2 separate regions of the Homo sapiens genome follow, and region 2 is linked to region 1. Evidence: promoter capture Hi-C in human tissues and cell types (Jung and others, 2019). All regions are on one chromosome and are shown on one strand. The core of a region is centred on a gene start or on the middle of the fragment in contact, and the rest is flanking DNA. Distances in the headings are between cores, read along the strand shown. Region 1 holds the start of REEP1 (receptor accessory protein 1). Region 2 overlaps RNF103-CHMP3 (RNF103-CHMP3 readthrough).

Evidence for each region. The method cuts DNA at HindIII sites, captures the fragments that hold promoters and counts their contacts. A contact is called where the count stands out against the background at its distance.
Region 2: a contact is called between a fragment that was not itself captured here and the fragment with the promoter of REEP1 in region 1, in 4 of the 25 tissues and cell types used here (IMR-90 fibroblasts, dorsolateral prefrontal cortex, lymphoblastoid cells and 1 more).

Annotation. Positions count from the first base shown.
Region 1 is chr2:86,335,596-86,340,079 of GRCh38, reverse strand. It overlaps REEP1 (receptor accessory protein 1), which reads left to right and starts at 2,454. Exons shown (of 9, transcript NM_001371279.1): 1 at 2,454-2,601. The coding sequence starts at 2,570. The HindIII fragment of the contact is 14,274 bases long and covers 1-4,484 here.
Region 2 is chr2:86,616,801-86,621,546 of GRCh38, reverse strand. It overlaps RNF103-CHMP3 (RNF103-CHMP3 readthrough), which reads left to right. Exons shown (of 8, transcript NM_001198954.1): 3 at 1,078-1,217. The coding sequence starts at 1,086. It overlaps RNF103 (ring finger protein 103), which reads left to right. Exons shown (of 4, transcript NM_005667.4): 2 at 1,078-1,217. It overlaps CHMP3-AS1 (CHMP3 and RNF103 antisense RNA 1), which reads right to left. Exons shown (of 6, transcript NR_183901.1): 6 at 4,098-4,371. Among named protein-coding and RNA genes, the nearest start is that of RNF103, 4.7 kb to the left of the region's middle. RefSeq lists a silencer at 4,206-4,255. The HindIII fragment of the contact is 6,359 bases long and covers 1-4,746 here.

The sequences.
Region 1 (4,484 bases), core at 1,205-3,704:
GTGAGAAATATGTGTTGGTCTCACTAGTTTTCTGGTCCTCTTCAGCTAATGAAAAGACCTCAAGATATTTTAACCCCATGAATAGTTTCATTTTGGTAATTAAAATGCTCAGTCCTGTGCAATAGTCAAATCTGAGAATTCCACTTATAGGGAGTAGGGAACAAGCATGTGGTCACCTCTTCTTTATTTTCCCACCAACAGGGTCTCTTTGAACCACAGTAGTCCATCCCTCCGCTGCTCCCCCTGCAAGATGGGTAACAGCCTTTCTGACGCAGGGAGCATAGGTGAGGGGTATGGATGGAGGGGAAGGGAGGTCTCAGGAAGGTCCTCTGTGCTGGGTGCTGTCCTGATCTAGCTTTGGTGTTCTCTTTGCCTAGTAAGTATGGAAAGCTTTTCCCCGTGGAGCATTGTTTTACCCGTATAACCTTACCTTGAGTGAGATATGGTGGGGCCAGACACAGATCAAGAGAGAGAAGCTAGAAAGAGTTTTAGAGCTTTTTATATCCACAGTTTCCTGGAGAGATCACAGCACACCATGCAGGTCCACTCAGGGCCAGGGTCTGTCACAGAGAGAGGGAGAGAGGGGAATTGTGGACAAACATCTTTATCATGGTTTCTGAGGGAAGGAAAGAGTGAAATAAGGCAAGCAGATATAGGATAGGCTAATTTGGATAATTTCAGCGGGTTCTGAAGTACAGGGGCTGTAACTAGTTGTTTGGTGCCTAGCCCTGGACAGGTGTATAGTGTCCCGCGTGTGAGAGCCTGCTAACGGAAGTGGTTGGGGGTATGCAGTTAATAGACTGCTGGAGAAGGGGAACTGACCAGCCTCCAGCCTGAGCCTCAAAACTGGGTCAAGGCAGCATGAAAAAACTGCTACATTACAGCTATTTTATGGGTTCTTTGGAGACCTGAGATATGAGAGCATGTCTCATCTGCAGTCCCTTTGTTGTCCGTGAAGTCTTTCTTCTGACTATATCAGGCACACGCACGCACAGATTCTGCTACATCTGAGAGTACTAAGCTGTCTCCTGCGCTTCTCACATCTGACACTGAATTATACATGACACCATCATCAGCAAAGGACAGGGCGCTGGGAGCACCACGCAGAACCTAAGCTATTGGAGGGTGGGAAAAGCAGCAGCAGAGCCTAGGAGTAGAGGACAAAGCGTTTCCAGTGTAACAGAATAATGTACTATCTGCGGCCGGGACTAGGGTGAGCAGAGTGAGGCGCTCAGTGAGGGTGCAACATTTAAGAGGTGCCATAAAATTCAGCAACTAAAATACATAATAGGTGGCTCACTCCTGTAATCCCAGCACTTTGGGAGGCCAAGGCGGGCGGATCACGAGGTCAGGAGTTTGAGACCAGCCTGGACAACATGGTGAAACCCCGTCTCTACTAAAAATACAAAAATTAGCTGGGCGTGGTGGCGCACTCCTGTAATCTCAGCTACTCATGAGGCTGAGGCAGAAGAATCGCTTGAACCCGGGAGGCGGAGCTTGCAGTGAGCCGAGATCGCGCCACTGCACCCCAGAGCGAGACTCTGTCTCATAAAAAAACAACAACAACAAAAAAAACCACCATAATATTTAATACGGTATTTTAAAAAATACATAAAAACGTTTATATAGGGTGCACAAGTTCCCTTTTGCCTAAGAGTTCAACGTGGCTCAGCGGGGCACTGGTGCTAAGCAGTCGCAGCTTCTAGTCTCCTCCTAGGGCCCGGAGCAGCCCCCAAGGAAAGGCCTTCCCTAGGAAGAAGTAGCCCTTCAGCCCAGCCTAGAAGAAGGAGCTGAATCAAACCAAGGCAGGACGATGAGGCGTGGCGTGTACTGACAGGGAAGAAGAAACAGCAAATATTTGAGTCCAAGATGCCTGGAGGGAAAAGAGCTAGAGGACTATTTGGGGGAATGGTCTTGGCAACACGGTTCTAGGCAGGTACCACGATCATATAGGGACTCTGTAGAATTTTAAGTAGGGAGGCAAGCGCCCAGGTTTGTTTCTTATGCAGAAAGTGCTGAGCAACGGACAGACTGAAGAGGTTAGGTCTGGATCCAGGTAAACCCTTTATGAGGCTAACGCACTAGCTGAATGAGGGATGACAGCATCCCACCTAGACAGGTGCAGACAGATTCCCGAGGTTCAGGTTCGGACTTCAGTTTCTCCGCTGGAACGCTGAGGGTGGGGCAGCACCCGGGTCCCTGCCCTGCAAACGGGGCCGCTGCAGGGTTCCTTTGGCGGGGCCGGTGCCCCGGGGAGCGCGCAGGACGCGCCCGCCTTCAGCCGGGGGCCAGGGCGAGCGGGACGGGGCGGGCCCGCGGGTGCCCTGACCAGCTCACCGCCCAATCGCTGCGGGCCCGCCGAGCCCCGGGGGGCTGGGGCCGCCGCCGCCGCCGCCAGAACGTGCCGCGGCTGCGCCAACGCGCGAACGCCGGGCAGGGCGGCGGGCGCGCTCAGTCTGGCGGCGGCTGCCGTGAGCTGACTGACGTTCCGGGAACGCCGCAGCAGCCCGCGCCGCCCGCAGCCTAGCCGAGCCGCGCCGCCCGGGCCTCGCCCGCCCGCCTGCCCGCCATGGTGTCATGGATCATCTCCAGGCTGGTGGTGTAAGTGGCCTTCTCCCCCGCGCCCCTCCGTCCCCTCCCTCCCCGCCCCCGGCCCCGGGCTGCGCGCGCCCCTACAGCGCCCGGTCCCAGTGGCTCGGGCTATTAATACCCGGCGCAGCTAAATTTAGCAGGTACAGTAGCCGCCGAGGACGCCTGCGGGCGGACGGGCGGCGCAGGACGCGGCTGCTGCCCAGGAGGCAGCCGGCGCCGGCGGCCGCTTGCGGGGGGCTGGGCCGGGACGGCGAGGGCTGGGGCGCTCGGGGGTTCCGTGGGGGCTGCGTCTCGCCGCGCGCTGGCCGCTTTGTTCCTCAGCTCGGTCGATTTGCAGAGGCCCCGAATGGGCGCACCGCGGACACGCGTCTCTCTCCTTTGGCAGAAATGTGAGGTCGCCCGGCGCCGCGCCCCGCCGCCCCAGCTTTTGTCAGGTGGAAAGGACAGCGCAGACGAACCAGGGGCGCTGCCTGGAGGGTCAGCGCGGAACGGGTGGAGAGGCAGAGGCGGGGCTCCCAGTGGGGTTGGAAAAATCCTCCTTTTTAGGTGTCTGCATCGACAGCGGCAAAGGCAGCTGGGACATGGGAAGACGCATGTGAATCTTGGAGTAAACGCCTGGAGCCCCCGGCTCCGACTCCTTTTGCAGGGGATTGAGAGACAGGGGCAGGTACCTCCAGGAATGCACGGGAAATTTTCAAGTGACAGCCACCCGCATGGTGGCGATGACACCTCCCAGGCCTTGCAGGAGAGCGCAGAGTCATCTAGGGTGAGGTCTGTGTGAAGTCATTGGGGGTGGGCGTGGGGGCCGATTTTCTCCTTCAAGCCCCAGGACCTGTAGGCGTTTGAAGAGCTTCCCCGGTGGATTTATTCTCCTTTGGAGATAGACGTGGCTGTTCCAAGTCCCTGTTCTTCCCTAACCATCCTGGCCTGAGTCAGAACAGATTTGCCACCTGCTGTAGCTAGCAGGGGCTGAAATGGGTGTGGGGAGTCTAAGGCGGGGAGGAGGGTGGCAGGCACCTCGGGCTTTTTCTTTGTCTGAGAACACGGGGCTCTGGACCCCAGTGATTGTGCACCATCACTCCCCACGTTTTGAAACACCACCCATCTCCCTTCCCTTCTTTACTGATTTTCCCTTCCGAAGTGGATCTCAGCATTGTCTCCCGCCACCATTCAGGGCTTTCCTCCCAAAGCCAGTGTCTGTGCCTCTCAGCCCCCAAGTCATTCCGTGAAGGCCTCTCCACAGCTGTTCCTGACTGCGGGGTGTTTGCGCTGCACCTTGAGGTGGCATGTTAAATATTTAGAAGATTTCTGCTGGCAGAGCCGACATGAATAATACAGGAAAGTGGCTGACACGCCTTGCCCAGCCTCATGCCTGACCAACACTGTCTTGCCTTCAGGGTGGTGTTTCCTCTCTGGGATCGATATTGCCAGTGGCTTCTGGGAAGCCCTCAGGGTGGGGCTGGAGAGTTGAGCTGGCCTGGCTGGTGGGCTCTCTGTAGGTCCTGCTGGGCTGGGAGTGAGGGCATCTGATCCTGGGTCATGTGACTATCATTAGTTTTATTAGCACTGGGTCATGTGACTATCATTAGTTTTATTAGCACCTCCCTCACCCCTGCCCTTTTTTTTTTTTTTTTTTTGAGACCGAGTCTCGCTCTGTCGCCCAGGCTGGAGAGTGCAGTGGCACAGTCTCGGCTCACTGAAGCCTCCGCCTCCTGGGTTCAAGCGATTCTCCTGCCTCAGCCTCCCGAGTAGCTGGGATTACAAGCGCCTGCCACCACGCCCAGCTAATTTTTGTATTTTTAGTAGAGACGGGGTTTCACCATGTTGGCCAGCCTGGTCTTGAACTCCTGACCTAGTGATCCGCCCGCTTCGGCCTCCCAAAGTTCTGGGAT
Region 2 (4,746 bases), core at 777-3,276, 280 kb before region 1:
GCAGAAGTGATAAATGTTTCTTTAGAGAAAATATAAAATCGTATATTATTCTTGCCCCTTGTTTGCTGACTGGTTTATGGCGATTCTTATTTCTACCATAGGGGGAAGAAGTGGAGTAACTAGGGTAAAAGATCTCTAATAAATAAACTCTCTTGGTTTAGAGATGAGAAGTGTCTCAACTGCCAAAGCCATCATTTTTTTATGGAAAATAATTTGGTCACACATTTTTTTTTCTTTTGACTGTTATTTATTATTGCCTTCTTTTGGGCCTAAAAATACTTGGCACATTGAATGTACTAGAAGTCCACATTTAACTTTAAGACGCACAGCCCAGTATGACTCAAATCACACGTTTTATGGCAGAAAAGTCATGGTATAGCAGTTTAAAATTTAAGTGTTTATTGTGAATGGTTTTGCTGCTATCATGGTGCAGTACTTGGTTTCTCACTGTTTAATATTTAAGGCGAAAGTTAAAATAATTTGATTTTAGTGTTTTCCTTTCCTTTTTGTTTAATGATACAAGCTCTAAATTTATAATATAAATTTGTATATGAATATGGAGTTTGTTCTGTCTAACAGGTAAAGTTCTAACCTCCAAGTCATACAAACCCTGTTGCTCTTTTAAGCAGGGCTGATGGCAAATTCTGTGAACCCAATTCTACATCTTTTAAGTAAGAAGCATATAAGCCATACTGTTTAAAAATGTATATGAAGCCTGTATGTGTCATTCATAAAACTAAATAATTAAGAAAGTTGTGCCTTTTTGGAGTGGTACAAATTTGGTAAGTTCCTAATAATTATGTGATAACCCCACTAAAATATAAGCCCTGTTCTATAAGAGATGGATTTTTGTCTATTTTGTTCACTTTTCCCTGATGCATAGGAAGTTCTTACTACATATTTATTGAATGTATGACTCCTAAGTGGGTATATCCAGGTTCTTCTAGTAGTTCTTGTCTATAAAATACAATGAAAGTACAATATCATGATTCTTAACAGTGTAAAAAATAGAATTACTGAAATTGGGAATCTAGGATTCTTGCAACCTTATTAGTGTTATTCTTTTCCTTTCTTCAGGTGACTTGATGGAGGGTGAGCTCTATTCTGCTCTCAAGGAAGAAGAAGCATCCGAATCGGTTTCTAGTACCAATTTCAGTGGTGAAATGCACTTCTATGAGCTTGTGGAAGACACAAAAGATGGCATCTGGCTGGTTCAGGTATGAAAAGCAGTAATAATTTGATAATTCGAGAGCCCTAAAAAAATTATTTTTACCAAAATAGTATGTACCAGCCAGTGACACTTCCGTGTCCTTGTGTCTTGTTTCTCACACATAACTCAGTTCTCTTAGGGAGGCTCCAGTATCTTCTTAAAAAGGTTTTGGAGACTGAGGAAGATGAAAATTGAGTAGTGGGAAAGAGAAAGATGGGGGATGGGGGTCAACTTTTTGTTTAGAATCCCCAGAAGCAAATCTATTTTAGTTATTGGACCTTTGTTGAATTGAGAAATACACATATATATCCCTTTTATTTAGTGATTTGCACTGTTTCTCTTAGTTTTTATTATCTCCAGTTTTTAATTCAGTGGCCTGAGTAATTTTTATATATAAGTAAGAACCCTAAAGTAAAAGTAAAGGAATCATTGTATTAGGGAAATAGCCAACTTTGTGACTATAGAGGAGCTGTTGTGGAAAATGGTGGGGGTGCTCATTACGTAACTCAGGATGATGAGATTATAATTTTTAACCCTTGTTTTTATGATAGCAAAACTGTGAGACTTAATTAGCATATTAGAATTTTAGAGCTATGATGGACCTTAAAAATATTTTATGCTTTCCAAGATGTAATTTATGGTGAGTGGGCATGCATTATCATTTACATATTTTAATGTAAATTAGAAAAATTATATTAACATAAATTTCATAAATTTTGCTTAGGACAGGACTAAAGTTATTTACATTTTAAAACTGTACATTCAAAGTGACATATCAAGTAAATTAACAGCGTGAATGTGGCTAAAATTATTAATGTAGTCTGTGAATGGCTGAAGCTTGGAAATTATATCAGACTAACCCTTTCTGAGACTCTGAGAGGTGAAGTAGCTTGCCCAAGGTCATGGAACTAGTTGGTAGTATTGAACCAGGATGAAACCCAGGTCTTCTGATTTCTTGACTGGTACTCTTATCATTTCACACTGGAGTGGGCAAAGTTTGATTCAGGGCATGAAAATTAAAACAGTTTCTTCATATTTCTTTCTGAGAGTAAAGACTGCAAAATATGGTAGGAAAAGCTATGAGTTCAGAGACATTAGTTGCAGGTCTGGTACTGTCGCTGTTACAGGTCTGGTACTGTCACTGACTAGCAGTATGATTGTAAATAGGTATATTTTTCTGTTGCACGTGGCCTCAAATAAATACATATACATCTAAAAAGGATAAAATGGTACTGTAGTCCACTGTGCTAAAGGGTTGAGGTTTGGGAATTCTTCCAGAGATTTACATTGTTCATCCATGGCCTTTCTTTATTGTATCCTTCCTATTGCATTTGTCCTTTTACCTTCCGGATAATCTAATTCAGTAATTTTTAAGTTCAGCAATGGGAGAGAATGTGAGAGTATGAGTGTAGTCTATACATTATCTATTTAAATTTTAGTTTATTTCTGTGTCAGTTGGAGTTGAAAAATAAGGTGGAGCTTTTTTAAAGCTTTAATGTATAAGTATATTGTTATTCTGTTTCTTTTCTCTGGTACTTATTTCTAATAGTCTGATTGAGAAAGACACTGGTTTTGATAATTTTAGATTTTATTACTGAGGATGAATTGAATAGCCAGTCCCACTGCCCTGCTTTCAGTGTCTAAATGTCACCCACATTGAATGATCCCATGGAAATAAATGGTGAAGATGTTGCACACCTTTGAAACTTGGAAGGGCTATGTCAAAAGTCTTGAGTTCTTTTGCTATATAGGCTGCTGCCTATAGACAACAAATACATTCTGGTTCAATAGTTAGCAGTATGTTCTTGGCTTGTAAATGATCTACTGTTTTTGATGTCCTGTTAAAGATATCCATGAATTAAGCTCCTGTAATAAATATGTGACAGAATTCATCAAAAGTTTATTCAGTTGTGGGTGTGCCAGGCCCTGTTCTGGGCCCTGAAGATATACCAGAAACACACACCAAGCTAAGGCCTTGCTCTGTCAGGCAGCTCACATTCTAGTTGGGAGAGGCAGACACCAAATAAATAAATATTTAATATAACATCAGTTAGTGGAAAGTAGTAAGAAGAAAAATAAGCAGATTAAGGAGATGAGAGTGGCAAGGAATTCTCTGGTAAGGTGACAAATGAAGTGAAGGACAAATAATGATAGTAAATGGTAGCATTATAAATTCTAGTTGCTAAATTTTTTTTCTCTGAAAATATTTTTAAACCTTATAGGTATTAATAGTTGAAAAACAACTCTTTAAAAATAGAATGTATTTCTGTGGTTTTTCTATGTATGGAAATAATGCAGTAGGACACCTGCTTAATTTTTCCAGTGATGCTCAAGGTTTGCATTGACCACCACTGTCTGGCTTGTGTTCCTTGAGGCCAGTGGCTTACATCTGTCAAATGGCTGGCCTGGTCTGAAAGAACAATCTCTGGCAGGACAACTGAGAAGAATGAGATTGAAACCCTGTCCTTGGCACTGTGAACTAGCCAGCTAAGCCAATCAGCACAGCCACCTTGGTTTAAGCCCTTAAAAGAGGGTTGTACTTTTTAAAACTATGCTTAAAATTGAAAATATCTACTAGAAACAGAAGAGAAATATTGTCTCCATTGCTTGCCATTCTTTCAGCTCAGATCATATATATTAATCTATTGTAAAGGATAACTTTCAAGAATTGTTTTTAACAATTTGAATTGTTGTTATTTTCTGTTTACAGTAGTCCCCCCTTATCTGAGGGGGATGCGTTCCAAGACCCCCAGTGGATGCCTGAAACCGTGGATAGTACCAAATCCTATATAGTCTATGTTTTTTCCTATACATACATACCTGTGATAAAGTTTAATGTGTAAGTTAGGCACAGTAACAACAACAACTAATAAAAATAGAACAATTATAACAGTATACTGAAATAACATTTATGTAAATGTGGTGTCTCTCTCTCCGAATATCTAATTGTATGTAGTATTTTCGGACTGCAGTTGACTGCAGAAAGTGAAACTGAGGGTAAGGGGAGACCACTGTATTTTAGAAGAAGCTGACTAATTTGTTCTCTGTCATTTGTTTTAAGTCTATGAGGAGTGTTTTCATAAATGAAGATGCACAGATGGCAGCCAGTTCAATCCTCTTCATATTTTTAAGCTTTTCCAGGTCCATGTTACGTATAGTCTCTGTAATGTGAACAGAATTTATTTTAGTTTTCAAGGTAGCAACATACATATGACATCTTTACCAATGACACACTATGAAATACATGTAGAACCAAGTGCTCTTTTTTCTAAGTTATTCCTAACATTGTTTTTCTCCTTTGTCCCTAACCCAAGCTCATATCTTTCATTAGCTATTCATTTAACAGTTTTGTGGATTCTTTGGCCCCAGTCTTCATAGCATTACAAATAGAAGATGGTTACTTTTCTTTCAAAAGACCCTTGGTCAGAGAGGCAGATGGCACAGTGGATAGGCTTCTGAAGTGGAGAAGTTAGCATAATTTATGGGTTTTATGGATTTATCCTCCTCCTAACATTTCTGTTTCTCCGTTTTGACTT